Regions from separate parts of the Homo sapiens genome. Here region 1 is linked to region 2. Evidence: promoter capture Hi-C in 16 types of primary human blood cells and fetal thymus (Javierre and others, 2016). All regions are on one chromosome and are shown on one strand. Each heading gives the region's core, a stretch centred on a gene start or on the middle of the fragment in contact. The rest is flanking DNA. Distances are from core to core; before and after follow the strand shown. Region 1 has its middle 13 kb from the start of SPARCL1. Region 2 holds the start of SPP1 (secreted phosphoprotein 1).

Evidence for each region. Contacts are between HindIII fragments. The CHiCAGO score rates a contact against its expected background, and 5 or more counts as called.
Region 1: a contact is called between a fragment that was not itself captured here and the fragment with the promoter of SPP1 in region 2, in 2 of 17 cell types (endothelial precursors and megakaryocytes). The highest score is 7.8, in endothelial precursors.

Annotation. Positions count from the first base shown.
Region 1 is chr4:87,539,430-87,544,557 of GRCh38, forward strand. No RefSeq gene overlaps it. Among named protein-coding and RNA genes, the nearest start is that of SPARCL1, 13 kb to the left of the region's middle. The HindIII fragment of the contact is 555 bases long and covers 2,004-2,558 here.
Region 2 is chr4:87,972,912-87,977,718 of GRCh38, forward strand. It overlaps SPP1 (secreted phosphoprotein 1), which reads left to right and starts at 2,803. Exons shown (of 7, transcript NM_001040058.2): 1 at 2,803-2,889; 2 at 3,971-4,038; 3 at 4,148-4,186. The coding sequence starts at 3,985. It overlaps LOC124900730 (a long non-coding RNA gene), which reads right to left and starts at 858. Exons shown (of 2, transcript XR_007058172.1): 1 at 728-858. RefSeq lists promoters at 557-2,799, 1,799-2,886, 2,676-2,889, cis regulatory regions at 1,809-1,818, 2,034-2,042, 2,109-2,117, 2,555-2,570, 2,745-2,754 and 1 more and enhancers at 2,061-2,081, 2,444-2,943, 2,706-2,776. The HindIII fragment of the contact is 2,498 bases long and covers 2,328-4,807 here.

The DNA.
Region 1 (5,128 bases), core at 1,031-3,530, 430 kb before region 2:
GTCAGGAAACAACAGGTGCTGGAGAGGATGTGGAGAAATAGGAACAATTTTACACTGTTGGTGGGACTGTAAACTAGTTCAACCCTTGTGGAAGTCAGTGTGGTGATTTCTCAGGGATCTAGAACTAGAAATACCATTTGACCCAGCCATCCCATTACTGGGTATATACCCAAAGGACTATAAATCATGCTGCTATAAAGACACATGCACACGTATGTTTATTGTGGCATTATTCACAATAGCAAAGACTTGGAACCAACCCAAATGTCCAACAATGATAGACTGGATTAAGAAAATGTGGCACATATACACCATGGAATACTAGCAGCCATAAAAAATGATGAGTTCATGTCCTTTATAGGGACGTGGATGAAATTGGAAATCATCATTCTCAGTAAACTATCGCAAGAACAAAAAACCAAACACCGCATATTCTCACTCATAGGTGGGAACTGAACAATGAGAACATATGGACACAGGAAGGGGAAGAGCACACTCTGGGGACTGTTGTGGGGTGCGGGGAGGGGGGAGGGATAGCACTGGGAGATATACCTAATGCTAAATGACGAGTTAATGGCTGCAGCACACCAGCATGGCACATGTATGCATATGTAACTAACCTGCACATCGTGCACATGTACCCTAAAACTTAAAGCATAATAATAATAAAATAAAAAAAAGAAAGAAAGCTGAATATTGTTGAAGATTGTGTCAAGGAACCTCTGTAATAGGATATAGAACGCCTCCTCTTTTCACATGAACTGCTAATACTATATGTGAAGAATGACGATTTTTAGGCAGAGGGGTGAAACATATCCCTTTAGTCAAGCTATGCAAACACAGCAGCTGCTCACATAAATTCCTTGAGTTTTATGCCGTTGTCTTTTCTCAGACAGAGCCCTCATTGAGTTTGGGAGAATTTGGGTTGGCTGGGTAATAACCGCATGAGCTATGTAGCTACTCTTTCATTCTGACCTCACCTTGGGATAGACACAGAACCCAATGTATCAAATCGCCTGGTGTACAGATCTCTTGTCCAAGTGAGGTGCAGCTGAACTTTATATTTCTGTGCATTTGACTTGCAGGCTGCGTCTTATTCACCAAGACAGAAGTTTATACTTGGGCCTTCTCATGGGTGAGGTCACTTTGCTGTTATTAGCCAAACGCCGCTCTTCTCCAAATGTCTGATGTTTTCTTGGCTGTAGTGTTCAGTTCCCAGAGCAAGATGTTTTAGACTAAGAAGTACTGCTTGTGCAATGACGCAAAGCCTATTCTGGAAATTTGCTCCAATGGTTGTGTTTTCTTGTTGGTTTTGAGCAACGGTATTTGTATTTTTGTTGATATTTCCCTTGTGAAGGAGCAATGGGTTTGTTAGATTTTGCGTGGTCTGATTGTACAACGTCAGGGATGCAGCTGAGGCTTTGTCTCTAGCAAATGTTAGGCGAGCCAAATTCGGACTGTTTAGAGTCTACATTGGCATTAACTGGCTGGCAACTTGAAATGAGACAAAAATGAATGATTTGCACAATGCCTGTCCTCGCTAGCTCAGTATTTCTTAAAAATTTCTTTTCATTGTCACTCCCCCAAGGAGCTTTTTGAACATTTTTTTCCTGAATGTCTCCTCCCACCATGAAATTTTAATACTCCAGATACACCGTATATCTATTTATATAATATTATCTGTATCTGTGTTTTATATATAAAAGAATAGAATTCTAGCTACCCCTGAACCAATTTTGCCCTTTTACTAATGATCCTCACCAATTGACTGAAACACATCTCATGCCTGAAAAAAACACAATTTACTATGGGGTAATTCATTGGCAATTACAATTTATAGCTGGAGAAACTGAGTCATGAATGATTTTCTAAGAACTTGATATAATATTTATAACAGCATTCATTACTCTACAAACATTTATAAAAGAACACAGAAGAATAACTTTTTGAATACATTACAGTTACTTTTCGGAGGAAATGCAGTAAAAATCTTTATAATTATAAGCTTTTTGTCCATGTTGTTAGCGCTTCTCATGTTGTGTGCTAAAGTTGGTTGAGATCTGTAAAAGCACAGGACAAATATTTCCTGCACATGCCCTTTTTCATTCCTATGCTCTAATCCCTGATGAAAGCCCCAATCACTTCACGTCTGACTGTTTTCCCTACCTCTGGACTCACATTCACAAATGCAAATTGCCCTCAAGGGCCAGGGAGGCCACAGAAATTAACGAAGGGGGCCCGAAGTAAGAAAACGACACTCTCCCAACACAGGCAGGGATGACTGGCAGCTGACACATGGCCTTTGTGTTAGGAAGACAAGAGGGGGTGCATGGGACTTGGGAAATGGAAAATATGTAGTCCATCTGAAGGTGGCAGCTGCTACTCAATTCTTGTAGCTTTATTGTCACAGGGAAATGGCAGCCCAACATTGTCTGATCATTTTACTGTTTTAGAGAGAAACCAGAAATCTAACATTTTATGGGATTATTAAATATTGACCAATAGTCTTTGTGCCAAATAAAACGGGTCTGTGAGCTGGGCTGGGCCACTGAACACTAAGCTTTGAGCACAGTTCCAGAGACTTCCTTCTCTTTCCAACCCAATCTATCTTAAACACTATTTTAAACAATTTCACCCTCTCAAAGTGTAATTCACATCATGTTCCTCTCCTGCTTAAAAGTTTTCAATAGCTTCCCACTGCCTACCAAGTCAATTCTAAACTCGTGAGCCAGGCATTTTAAAGCCATCTGCCACTTTATGTAATATCTTCCCTTCACTTATGTGAACATCAACTTTTTCTCCTTTCCTTGACTTACTTTGTAATTTTCTGCCTCACTCCTTTGACTAAGGTGGCTTCTTCTGCCTGAAACCTTCATGTTTAAATCTTACCAATCTTTCAAAGTCGAACTTTAGATGTCTCCTTTCCAAGAATCCTTCTTTGCTATATCTGATAAGAGGTTATTCTTTCTCTGAACTTCAATAACGTATTATTTTTGATAAAGTGTTTGGAACACTCTGCTCAGAGCAAGTGCGATAGGACGAGTTGGCTCGGAAGGAGTGGCTCATCACCCTCATTTGCCCTTCACTTCCCATCTCTGGCTCTGTCCTGTGTCATAGGGGAATAGCATATTCATTTAATTTTTTCTCTGGCATTTTTCACTTTTCATTGTGTAATACAGAGTCCTCTATCCCTTACTAGGTAATATTTTCAAACAGGGATTCTTTCTTTCTTTCTTTCTTTCTTTCTTTTCTTTCTTTCTTTCTTTCTTTCTTTCTTTCTTTCTTTCTTTCTTTCTTTCTTCTTTCTTTCTTTCTCTTCTTTCTTTCTTTCTCTTCTTTCTTTCTTTCTTTCTTTCTTTTTCTTTCTTTCCTTCCTTCCTTCTTTCTTTTTTCTTTCTTTCTTTCCTTTCTTTTCTTTCCTTCCTTCCTTCTTTCCTCCCTTCCTTCTTTCCTTTCTTTCTTTTCTTTCCTTCTTTCCTTTCTTTCCTTGCTTTTCTTTTCTTTCTTTCTTCCTTCCTTCCTTCTTTCTTTCCCTTCCTTCCATCCTTCCTTCCTCCCTTCCTCCTTTCCTTTCTTTCTTTTCTTTCCTTCTTTCTTTCCTTGCTTTTCTTTTTCTTTCTTCCTTCCTTCCCTCTTTCTTTCTTTCCCTTCCTTCCTTCTGTCCTTCCATCCTTCCTTCCTCCTTTCCTTTCTTTCCTTCTTTCCTTTCTTTCTCTTTCTTTCTTTCTCTCTCTCTCTCTCTTCCTTCCCTCCCTCCCTCCCTCCCTCCCTCCCTCCTTCCTTCCTTCCTTCCTTCCTTCCTCAGGGTCTTGCTCTGTCACCCAGGCTGGGGTGCCATGGGCCAATCATGGCTCACTGCAGCCTTGACCTCCCAGGCTCAAGCGATCCTCCTACCTCAGCCTTCCAAGTAGCTGGGACTACAGGCTTAAGCCACCAGGCCTGGCTAATTAAAAAAAATTTTTTTTTTCCAGGGATGGATGTCTCCCTGTGTTGCTCAGGATGGTCTCAAACTCCTGAGCTCAAGTGATCTTCCCCCCTGAGCCTCCCAAAGTGCTGGGATTACAGACATGAACCATTGTGCCCCACCAGGGATCATTTTCTTGTATAACCTTGATTCCCCACAGTGGCAAGTACTTAAATATTTGTAAAATGAGCATTTGCAACTCTATTGATTGCTTCATTCACCAGATCATTCCTTCCCACATGCCCCCAAAATTCCAAATCTATGGATGTGTTACTTGAAGAGAACCAAATTGAGAGAAGGCAAACATACTTCAGGAAGGGTAATGTGTAAGGAACCATCAGGATTCTCATGCATTTGCGTGATTTGTCTACCCTCTTTGGCCCAAATATTGAGCCTTTTAAACATTTAAAAATATTGACCAATGAAGATTTAATATGTTCAATTGACCCTCGTTTTAACATGCTGTTCAACATCTGCCAATTTCTAAAAACTGGTCTGACATTCTAGAAGGAAAAAAAGAATGAGCAATTCCTAGGTTAACTAACATATATAAAGGAATTTGATATCTCTTTTGCCTTACTGGGCTCCTGGGTACAGGCCAGTATACTTGGAAGTGGCCACAAGAGGGGAGTATGAACCACAGTCATCCTTAAATGAATGAGACCAAGGATTCATTCTTTCTCCAGCAGAATGAAGAAAGCTCCATCCTGAACAATAGTCAATTGAATTATCATTCCCTTTCCAGCTGACGATCAAAGACTGAATGTGGATCTGCCCTTTCTGTGTTCACAGAGACGGTAACTTTCACCTCTCAGCTGTCCAATCAGACCATAATCCTGACTGGAAGAAATACTTGCAGAGCAGGGCCTGAAGGATGTGCAGTCCCTCTTGCTCAATTTCTCTCACATTGTTTTACCTTTGCATGAAACCAGAGCCCTGAGAGAACTGTGTTCCTGGATCATGTTGCTTTGGGTCCTGTAGAATTATTTCTACTGAATTGTGATTTGGCCTCCCTCAAAATCTTTGTACTGAGGGAAGCTTTAAGAAGCAGCTGTTTAAAATGTGTTATTAGGCCAGGCGTGGTGGCTCACGCCTATGATCCCAGCACTTTGGAAGGCCGAGGAGGGTGGATCACCTGAGGTCAGGAGTTCGAGACCTGCCTGG
Region 2 (4,807 bases), core at 1,553-4,052:
GAAGTGAGTTTAATAAAGTTGTCCACCAAAGTAGTGACATTGAACACTTACTTTTTATTATATGGGAATTTTCATGTAATTCAGGAAAAAGACCTTAAGGCTCTTTATTTGTTTCCATGTGTCCTCTTAGTGTGTATAATTTAAGATCACAAATTACTCTTTGCATTCTAGTTTGACAACTAAACTTTTTTTACTTTCCACTCACAAGATTTATAGGGAATTTGTGCATTTTGACCTTTTGATTCTAACAACCAATCATTAGCCAATCAAGAATGGAAACTTTGGAAATATTACAGATAGAGCCACTGTGATTTAAATCATTTAACATGTTAATTCTGACAGAAAATCCTACTCAGAAAAAACAACCAGCAGCAGCATGTTTGAGTGCAAACAGCAAGAAACATCCCAAAACATGACCTCCCCGATAGTCAGAATGACGCAGCATCCATTTCCTACTTTACAGAATTGCCTCCCATTATAAATCACTTTATCTTCTCAACTCCAAAGCATCCCAGACACATTCTTTACCCGTGAATTCACAAGCCTTTTCTCTGAGAGAGGCCTTGGGACTAGGAACTTTTTGAATGAGTGTAGAAGTCGGGAAGGAGACAATAGTGTCAACTTGGGATTGCCTAAGGCAACAACAGAGCAAAACAAGAACGCTTTGGTTCTCTGGGTCTCTGTCCCTGATTGCATAGCGGGTCATTGTTGGGAAATATTTCCTCACCTGGCATTCCAAGAAATGGAGAGCTCCACAGCTGTATATAGTCCTGTCATTAAATACAGGAGTGTTCTATCCCGCTGGAATTAAGAAAATTGGTAGAACCAGATTGTGGTCTGAAATCTTTTTTCAGAAATGCTGCCATCGTGTGGCACTGCGGAGCTATGACCAGAAGAGTCCTGTAAAGGGTCGTATGGTTCATCTCAAGATGGCTGGGCTCCAGCATAATCTATTCCTATAATTAATTCTAGCTTCATATTGAATCATTCCCGTGGGCACAGAGTAAACTACAGTAAATCCTGTGGAAATTTTGTTGTTTTTAGAATTTTCAGACTTCCCTCCACTAAATTGACAACATGACACGCTTATGCGGGTATGTTTAAAGGAAAAAAATAGTTTTTAGAAGCAGAAAAAAGAAGTCTATTTTGCAACTTTATAATCTGTGTGCTTTCTATTTTATAGAGATAGTCGTCATCTTACTTATTAAAATGGGTGCTTATTACCTACAAACCAATCATATCAATTCATCTGGAATACATCCAATTTAAGGGAGACATATTTCCCCCTACCAAATGTTCATGAAACCTATGAATTAGCTATACACTATCACTGCAAGACATTATTTAATCTATATTTATATTAAAAGTAATATTTGGCAAAAGGAAGCTGACACTTTAGGACTAATAAAAACCACAATTACTTTTGCAGCAACCTAATAATAAATAGGACCATTTATTTTTCATCTCAATTACACACAAGTCTTAACAATAAAGGTGTAAGGTAAATAAATAGTGCAATCTGCATTTCACAACTGAGAAAGCAAATGAAGATAAGTAATCTCAAGGCAATATTAAATATTTTAAAAGGACCCAGAGCTCTGCTATCCCTGAATTCTGCTCTAATATTCGGACTTTCCCTGTAATTTTCTTTCATTCAGACACCTTTTAAATACCTAGTAAAGTGTTTTTTAATACAGAAATTTTTAAAAATGTTTTTCTTTTTAAGTGGCCTACTTTACATACCTTGGGAGAAAAACTAGAAAAAAAGATGATTCCAAAATCGAATCTGTTCCTTTAGAAATGTGCAAAATTTCCTTATTGATGCATACAATTTAAAGATCTTACGTCTACTCTCATTTTAATAACCTGTTCTTTTAAAGGACATTACAATTCGTGACTGCCTGCCCCTCTTAAAAATTTCATAATAGTTAACACACATATAGTCCTTAAGATACGCAGAGCATTTGCATCTAATATGTGCTAAGCATTGCTAGTTTAACATACTAATTCATTTAAACCCCTCAAAAACCCCATGACCTAGGTAATAGTATTGCATTTCATGGATGAGGGAACAAGGATAGGTAGGCTGGGCGATTTGCCCAAGGTTGCACAGGTCAGCAGTGACACAGCGGAATTCAGAACCACGGTCTGGCTCCTGAAGCAGCCCTCTCAAGCAGTCATCCTGCTCTCAGTCAGAAACTGCTTTACTTCTGCAACATCTAGAATAAATTACCATTCTTCTATTTCATATAGAATTTTATATTTTAATGTCACTAGTGCCATTTGTCTAAGTAACAAGCTACTGCATACTCGAAATCACAAAGCTAAGCTTGAGTAGTAAAGGACAGAGGCAAGTTTTCTGAACTCCTTGCAGGCTTGAACAATAGCCTTCTGGCTCTTCAATAAGTACAATCATACAGGCAAGAGTGGTTGCAGATATTACCTTTATGTTACTTAAACCGAAAGAAACAAAAATCCATTCTATTTAATTTTACATTAATGTTTTTCCCTACTTTCTCCCTTTTTCATGGGATCCCTAAGTGCTCTTCCTGGATGCTGAATGCCCATCCCGTAAATGAAAAAGCTAGTTAATGATATTGTACATAAGTAATGTTTTAACTGTAGATTGTGTGTGTGCGTTTTTGTTTTTTTTTGTTTTAACCACAAAACCAGAGGGGGAAGTGTGGGAGCAGGTGGGCTGGGCAGTGGCAGAAAACCTCATGACACAATCTCTCCGCCTCCCTGTGTTGGTGGAGGATGTCTGCAGCAGCATTTAAATTCTGGGAGGGCTTGGTTGTCAGCAGCAGCAGGAGGAGGCAGAGCACAGCATCGTCGGGACCAGACTCGTCTCAGGCCAGTTGCAGCCTTCTCAGCCAAACGCCGACCAAGGTACAGCTTCAGTTTGCTACTGGGTTGTGCATTCAGCTGAATTTCATGGGGAAGTCCAAATTCTAAGGAAAAATATTTTTAATTGTAATGCTGTTAAACAGACTTAAATTTTCTAGCCTTTTTAATAAGCAGATTAGATACATTGCAGGTCTCCTGGAACAAAGGTGTCTAGATATTTTGAATGCCAATCAAATTTAAAACTTAAAAATACTTCCACTGGGTCCTCAAAAGAACGGAAACCACCGATGCTAATCAGAAAATAGTAAAATTAAATTCCCCTTTGGAATAATTATACCTATATAATTTTCAGTGGGTGACTGTGCAGGAATTTAAAAGAAAAGGGATCTTTTATGCTAATTAAACCAATTACAATGCTATTTTTTAAATGATGTATCTCACTTTTAAGGGGAAGAAAACCCTTTCTGAATATGCCACTGCTAAATTTAGCTGTTAAAATATTCACCAAGATACCTGTATGACACTGTGTAGGCTTATTATTACAAATAGAAAAGCTGTTGGCTATTTTCAATGTTTTCCTTTGAATTTCAAATTTTTAGAACATCTTACTTAAATAACAAATTTCAGAGATAGTTTGATTTCACCTAAGTAGCACCTACTTGATAATTAAGCTAAAAGTCACATTTAAAGTACATGTTGGAAAAATGGATAAAGCAAATTTTTTTCATTTTTTTCTGTGAGTTTTTTCTTCTCTAAAAAATATTCCCATACTAGCTTATTAATATAATTAAGTTACTGTTGATCTGTTTGTAGGTTTAGAGAGCTAGATATATAAGGTAGTAATGGTATAATTTCTGGAACTCTAAATTTTAAAGTTGAATAAATACAGACTTGCAAAATTTCCCTTTCCCTTGCCTAATAGTGAAAGATGGATAATAGGTGGCAATATAAATATTAACTTGAAAGACTATAATACTAAAAAGAAAAGGCATCTCTAAGAAGTAGAAAAGATTCTATAGAAAATATATTTTATTTGTGATCATTTTGTAATGTGGTAGTATAAAAAGGTATCACTGTTGTAACCTATGAAGATGTCAGCTATTCCTTATGAAATATTTTGCAGGAAAACTCACTACCATGAGAATTGCAGTGATTTGCTTTTGCCTCCTAGGCATCACCTGTGCCATACCAGTGAGTACAGTTGCATCTTAAAGAAAATTCCTGAAAATAACTGAATTGTGTGCTTCCATGTGCTAGGAGGACATTCTTGTAATCTTTCTTCATCTTTTCTGTTTCTAAGGTTAAACAGGCTGATTCTGGAAGTTCTGAGGAAAAGCAGGTAAGCATCTTTTATGTTTTTATATAGTTAAATCATTTACTCAATTATGGCGAGAGGTGCAAGAAACGTATTTGCTGCGATATTACTTATCTTCTCAGTCAAATCCATTGGTTTACAAGTATTGATTGACTGCCTGCTATGAATCTAGGCCAGTACCAAGCACAGTATAGTTTTTAATAAATATAAGTTTATAAAACCAACCCAGATATTTTAAATATAATAATATCTAGGCATGTATGATGAGTTATCGCATGTAAGATAAGTTATATGAAGTTGTGTGACTTTTTTTCCATTAGTCCACATACTGATCTAAAAGCAGAAAATTCCAGCTTTTGCTTTGTTTAGTGGATTGCTAAGTTTAAAATTCACATTGGATATTAGTCAGAACTGTTTGTATGACCATAATATTCACAATATTGTCTGAGATATTAGCTGAGAAGCCCATTGTGAAAAGAAAGTCTATGTGTGCTGTTTGTATCTATTGTGATTGTCAGCTGATGTTAGATCACATTTTCTAACCAAACATAAGACCAACCAAACTCTTTATTATAATTATTTGACCAGCACTAAAGATGTACCTACCCCTCCACAACAGATGAAACTGTGCCAGCCAAACAACAA